2 separate regions of the Homo sapiens genome follow, and region 1 is linked to region 2. The links are contacts of gene promoters, found by promoter capture Hi-C in human tissues and cell types (Jung and others, 2019). All regions are on one chromosome and are shown on one strand. The core of a region is centred on a gene start or on the middle of the fragment in contact, and the rest is flanking DNA. Distances in the headings are between cores, read along the strand shown.

Region 1 (2,946 bases), core at 75-2,574, 540 kb before region 2:
CGTCTTCAATTCAGTAAACCGAAGACTGATCTTGTCACATTCAGATGTGTAATTAATGCCTGCTACATCGCGAAAAGCATCTATACCAGGTAGACAGTAATTTACTTTCCCATAAAACTTTAACACTTTTGCTAGAAACACTATTTTTTTTTTCACAACACATTGAAAGACTATTATCCAGGCAGCCTCTCTTTCGCAGGGACGTAGGGAGGGAAAATCTTTTAAGGGACTGGCATTCCATATTGGTACTTGAGCGTCTTGGCAGTGGGACGCATCGCCCTCTCACAGGGGTGACTGCCTGACTAATGAGGTCGCCCCCAGCAACATCCACATTTTAGACTGTATTGTGTGAGCTGCCCCAAATTGAGGTGATCTCCTGTCCAGACCAGGCTGTACTTTGGTTATTTACTTGCAATGAGATATCAAGAGACTGAAAGTGGTTTAAAAAAAAAACAAAAATCTCTTCCCTAATATATGGTGTATTATTATTATTATTATTATTATTATTATTATTATTTTGAGATGGAGTCTCACTCTGTTGCCGAGGCTGGAGTGCAATGGCACTATCTCGGCTCACTGCAACCTCAGCCTCCTGGGTTCAAGCGATTCTCCTGCTTCAGCCTCCTGAGTACCTGGGATTACAGGCATGCATAGCCACCCCTGGCTAATTTTGTATTTTTAGTAGAGACGGGGTTTCTCCATGTTGGTCAGGCTGGTCTTGAACTCCTGACATCAGGTGATCCGCCTGCCTCAGCCTCCCAAAGTGCTGGGATTACAGGCGTGAGCCAACACGCCAGGCGTTTCTGTTTGTTTGTTTGTTTTATTTTTAGTAGAGATGGGATTTCACCATGTTGGCCAGGCTTGTCTCAATCCTCTGACCTCAAGTGATCCACCTGCCTTGGCCTCCCAAAGTGCTGGAATTACAGGTGTGAGCCACTGTGCCTGGCCTCACATCTCCTCCTTTTAACAGGATAAACTAAACAGGCCTCAAGAATGTGACCTCCCACGCTCCTCCATGAACAGCTCTCTCCCTGCGTCCCAGCAACCAAAGACACTTGTTGATTTGGGAAAAACCCAGAGGAAGGATTCTGTCTGGATTTTCTGGTACCACTGACGCATTTTCACCCAGGCACATTCATCTGGTTCAAGACTGAATCTTTCCCTTTTTCATGAAACAGATTCTCCCCCTCTTTTAAGCCTCTGTGGGCTCCAGAATGAGTTGAACCGCTGTATCTTCTCATCACAGCGTTTCCCTCTTTGGACATGGGCTGAGACACACAGATTTCACGACTTCCTCTTTGGAGAAGGCATGAAAGGACCTGCAGCCACGGCCCCATACGTTTCAAGAGAGGCAAGGCTTTCACCCTCCGTGTCTTTCACAGCCATCCGCCCACAGCCTCTTAACTTCCTGACATTAAACAAAAACGAAACCGAGGTTTCCCTAATTGGGGATCATCATCAAGAATCTGTCATGGGGTCTCTTAGAAATTAATTCAACTCGATTGTTCTTCAGACCTCCGCTAAGGAGCCGGCGTGTTACTCTCGACACCAACTTGTCCCATCTTCATCCTATATTAGCTCCCTAACAGGGTTGCACGATCAGCTCCTAGGCTGCAAATTAGAAAAATGGGCGATGATTCCAGCAGCTACGCCTCGGCACTCTCACGCCGGATTACTGTGATGGTCTCCTTGCAAGGCTTCCGGATCTTTCTATGTGGGTTGAAATTGGTTCCAACTGTAACTTCCTGTTGATCTCCCACCCTGAATTCCCTCATTGATGCAACATTTTGTTAAAAAAGAACTTCACCGAATTACCCATTTCATGGAAATTGCAATAGGGTATTGACTTGTATAGTTAATGAAGCTTTCAAAAAAGCACTCCTGTAGCCATCATCTAAATGCCCCTCTGGCCACCAAAACTGTGCATGTAATTCACTGTAGTGAGGATTCCTGAGTCTCCCTAAGGGAGATCCAGTAGGATCAGTTCTGGGTGGGATCCGTCAGCAAACACAACCTATTGCCCGCCTCCTTCTGGTTTCCAGTCCCGGGGGGTAATTGATGTCTTAGTGCACACAGAGCCGGACCATGGAGCTAAGTAGATATGGGTTTCCAACTCATCCCGGCCACTTCCCAGGGGCATGTCCAGGGGCAAGTTAGTAACTCTCTTGAACCTCAGTTTCCTCATCTGCAGAGTGTGGATCATCACAAACCTACCTTCTGGGGTTGCTAGGGGATTAAAGGAGATAAGGAGCATAGCAGGGCTGGCCCTGTGCCTGCCTGGAGTGGGCACCAAGCTGACTTCGCTGGGGCTCTCCCGGCCCCACATACCTGCAATGGTTTTGCCTTTGGCTCGATGTCTGAAGCCTTTGCATTTCTGAAGGGAGTGATGTAAATCAAGCCATGCTTATGATTAAAAACATCCAACGTTCAGCTCAGTTGTTTGTCCTATTTTGGCAACATCCTATTCTTTTGTTGTTGCTGTTTTTGAGATAGGATCTTGCTCTGGGGCCCAGACTGGAGTGCAGTGGTACAATCATGGCTCACTGCAGCCTCAACCTCCTGGGCTCAAGTGATCCTCCTGCCTCAGCCTCCCGAGTAGCTGGGACTATAGGTGTTCACCACCATGCCTGGCTAGTTTTTTAATTTTAATAGAGATGAGGTCTCATTATGTTACCCAGACTGATTTCAAACACCCAGGCTCAAGTGATCCTCCCACCTCAGCCTTCCAAAGTGCTGCCATTACAGGTATGAGCCACCACACCTGGCCAACCTTCTCCTCTTATCTGTGGGAAACCTTGGGGCATTACTGAAGAAAAAATTGTGATGTCCAAATCCTGCACTGTACCCCAGTGCAAGGTGGTAGGTGTTGAAGTAGAAAATGATAAGACGTAAATCGTCAGCAAAAGCCAAAGAGAGAGGTAAAAAATGTATGAGCACTAAATGAAT
Region 2 (2,749 bases), core at 174-2,673:
CACCTGTAATCCCAGCTACTCGGGAGGCTGAGGCAGGAGAATCGCTTGAACCCAGGAGGTGGAGGTTGCAGTGAGTCAAGATTGAGCCATTGCACTCCAGTCTGGGCAAAAAGAGTGACACTCCGTCTCCATAAATAAATAAATAAAATAAAGGTGACCCAGCAAAGTCAGTGCTTTTAAATTTTTAAATTTTAATATCCATAGGAATTCTGCTTTGTTTCCTAAATCTGGTGTTGGCTCCCAACAATCTTGCTATAAAACAATGCTTTGGGAACATGAGCCTTGTCTATCCACTGGCTTTGAGACTCTCGAACACACAGTTAGTGTTTTGAACTCAATTTTTTGGACCTAGTTTTTCTGCCTGTTTGCTTTCTTAAAACACAGGGTCTTGCTCTGTTGCCCAGGCTGGAGTGCCGGGGCAGGATCATAGCTCACTGCAGCCTTGAACTTCTGGGCTCAAGCGATCCTCCCGCCTCAGCCTCTGGAGTAGCTGGGACCACAGGCGCATGCTACCAGGTCTGGCTGATTTTCTTTTTTTTTTTTTGAGACGGAGTCTCGCCCTGTAGCCCAGGCTGGAGTGCAGTGGCACCATCTTGGCTCACTGCAACTTCCGCCTCCCAGGTTCAAGAGATTCTCCTGCCTCAGTCTCCCGAGTACTTGGGATTACAGGCGCGCGCCTCCACGTCCGGCTAATTTTGATATCTTAGAGATACAAAAATTAGAGACGAGACGGGATTTCGCCATGTTGGCCAGGCTGGTCTCGAACTCCTGACCTCGTGATCCGCCCGCCTGGGCCTCCCAGAGCGCTGGGATTACAGGCGTGAGCCACCACGCCTGGCCTTTTTTTTTTTTTTTTTTTTTTTTTTTAAATTTTAAGAGATGGGGTCTCGCTTTGTTGCCTAGGCTGGTCTCAACTCCTGGCTTCAAGCAATCCTCCCAACTGCGCCTCCTAAAGGGCTGGAATTACAGGCATGAGCCACAGCGCGGCCGCGGAGGACTTAATTTGAGAACCTGAAGCTAAATGACCAAGGGCTTTGGTGCACGGATCAGGACGCTTCTCTCCGGCACATAGTTTTCTCGCTCCCGCCGGTGCAGACACTGGGCGCCCTGCAGGCGAAGCCCCGCCCCTCCGGACACAACCCCGCGCCTTCCTCAGAGATCCCCGCCCTCGAGACGCCCCGCCCACCCACCGGATGCTCGGCATGAACCACTAGGCGCCTGGCGGGGGTGATCTGTCGGAGCGACCGGCTTGGCGCCTGCCTGTCCCCAGCCCCTCTCAGCTTGAACTCCTTCCTTCAAGTCTGGGCCCTCGAGGCTTCCAGAGCGGCCTCCAGGGGTGCAGTCTCAGTTCCCCACGCCAGCCGTCTCCGTCCTCCGCCTCCTCCGGGCCTGGCAGGTGGCACTGTCCGGAGGCGGAGCCTTGGGCGAGGGGTGGTTGCGGCGGAGGACGCAACCGAGCGGTGAGGCGCGTGGGCCTTCGGGGGTCGAGGTCGTGGTAGTGGGGCGCGGGGAGGCCAAGACCCGGCCGAGGGGGGCGGGCGGGCCAGGGAGCAGCCCAGCCCGGGGCGTGCGCGACCTGGGCTCGCTTCCCAGCCCGACTGTGGCCGCCTGCTCTGGCGCCCCTTCTGGACTCTCGGGCCTGGCGCTCGCGGCCAAAACTGACTTCAAAGTGTGGGGAGGGTTCCTCTTCCCGGGACGCAGCCTTCCCGGGCATTGGCAGACGGTGCCCCGGTTAGACAGAGCCGCTGACCACCCCGCCCACCCCCGAGGCTGGACGCACGGATGCACACCTGGTCCTGGGAGAGACAGGCGCCCCTTCCTTTCCGCACCCCGCCGCCCCCCTCTCCCCCCCGCCGGCTTCAGATGCAGCCACCACTAATCCTGGGAGGGACAGACACACGGACAGGTGCCCCTTCCCCTCCTCACCCTCCTACTGGCTGCAGAACAGCAAATGCAGCCACCACTGACCCTGAGAGGGACAGACACACGGACAGGCGCCCCTTCCCCTCCGCACCCCCCTGCTGGCTTCAGGACGTCAAATGCAGCCACCACTTGACGCTGGGAGGGACAGAAACTTTCCAGCCCAGGCTGGCCCTGGGGCATGGGTAGACATCCCCTTGCACACATGGCTGACCCCGGAACTCAAAGATGCCCCTGACTCTGGCCCACCTGCAGCCTGGGCCAGCACCACGCTGTTGCCCCGACTGCACCAAAGACCAAGGGTGACAGACTTTGAGTTCCGGAGGCCTTGTGGTTTCAGCTAGACCCTCATCTGCCCCTTTCAGCCCCGCCACCAGCGCTCAGGGCCCCACCTAGACCAAAGCTTTGCATCCATCCCTGCAGTACAGACCTCTGGTCTGGGGATCATGGTTCTCCTGGTCTGAGATGAAAGTTCTGGGGCCCCTTCCCAGGCCTGAGCAGGCATGGTGGGCTGCTGTGACTAGAGCGAGCTGGGTCTGGAGTGGGCATTGAGGTTTGGCTCTCACATTGCCTTTGCAGGGCCTGCGGCCTCACCATGGACCCAGAATGCGCCCAGCTGCTCCCGGCTCTCTGTGCTGTTCTGGTAGATCCCAGGCAGCCGGTGGCAGATGACACCTGTTTGGAGAAGCTCCTGGACTGGTTTAAAACGGTCACTGAAGGAGGTAAGGAGGTGGTGCTGCTGTTTACTGCCTATCCAGAGACCAGACGCAGAGGCTGGGACAGGGAGCAGGGGCCAGATGGGGACTCCCCTGTCCTGGAGGAAGGGCAG

What was found. The method cuts DNA at HindIII sites, captures the fragments that hold promoters and counts their contacts. A contact is called where the count stands out against the background at its distance.
Region 1: a fragment that was not itself captured here is called in contact with the fragment with the promoter of BRAT1 in region 2 in 1 of the 25 tissues and cell types used here (lymphoblastoid cells).

What each region holds. Positions count from the first base shown.
Region 1 is chr7:3,093,610-3,096,555 of GRCh38, reverse strand. LOC105375130 (a long non-coding RNA gene) reads left to right here. Exons shown (of 2, transcript XR_007060191.1): 2 at 971-2,430. Among named protein-coding and RNA genes, the nearest start is that of CARD11, 51 kb to the right of the region's middle. The HindIII fragment of the contact is 3,745 bases long and covers 1-2,946 here.
Region 2 is chr7:2,554,198-2,556,946 of GRCh38, reverse strand. It overlaps BRAT1 (BRCA1 associated ATM activator 1), which reads left to right and starts at 1,423. Exons shown (of 14, transcript NM_152743.4): 1 at 1,423-1,460; 2 at 2,500-2,642. The coding sequence starts at 2,516. RefSeq lists an enhancer at 839-1,516 and a silencer at 1,429-1,668. The HindIII fragment of the contact is 14,393 bases long and covers 1-2,749 here.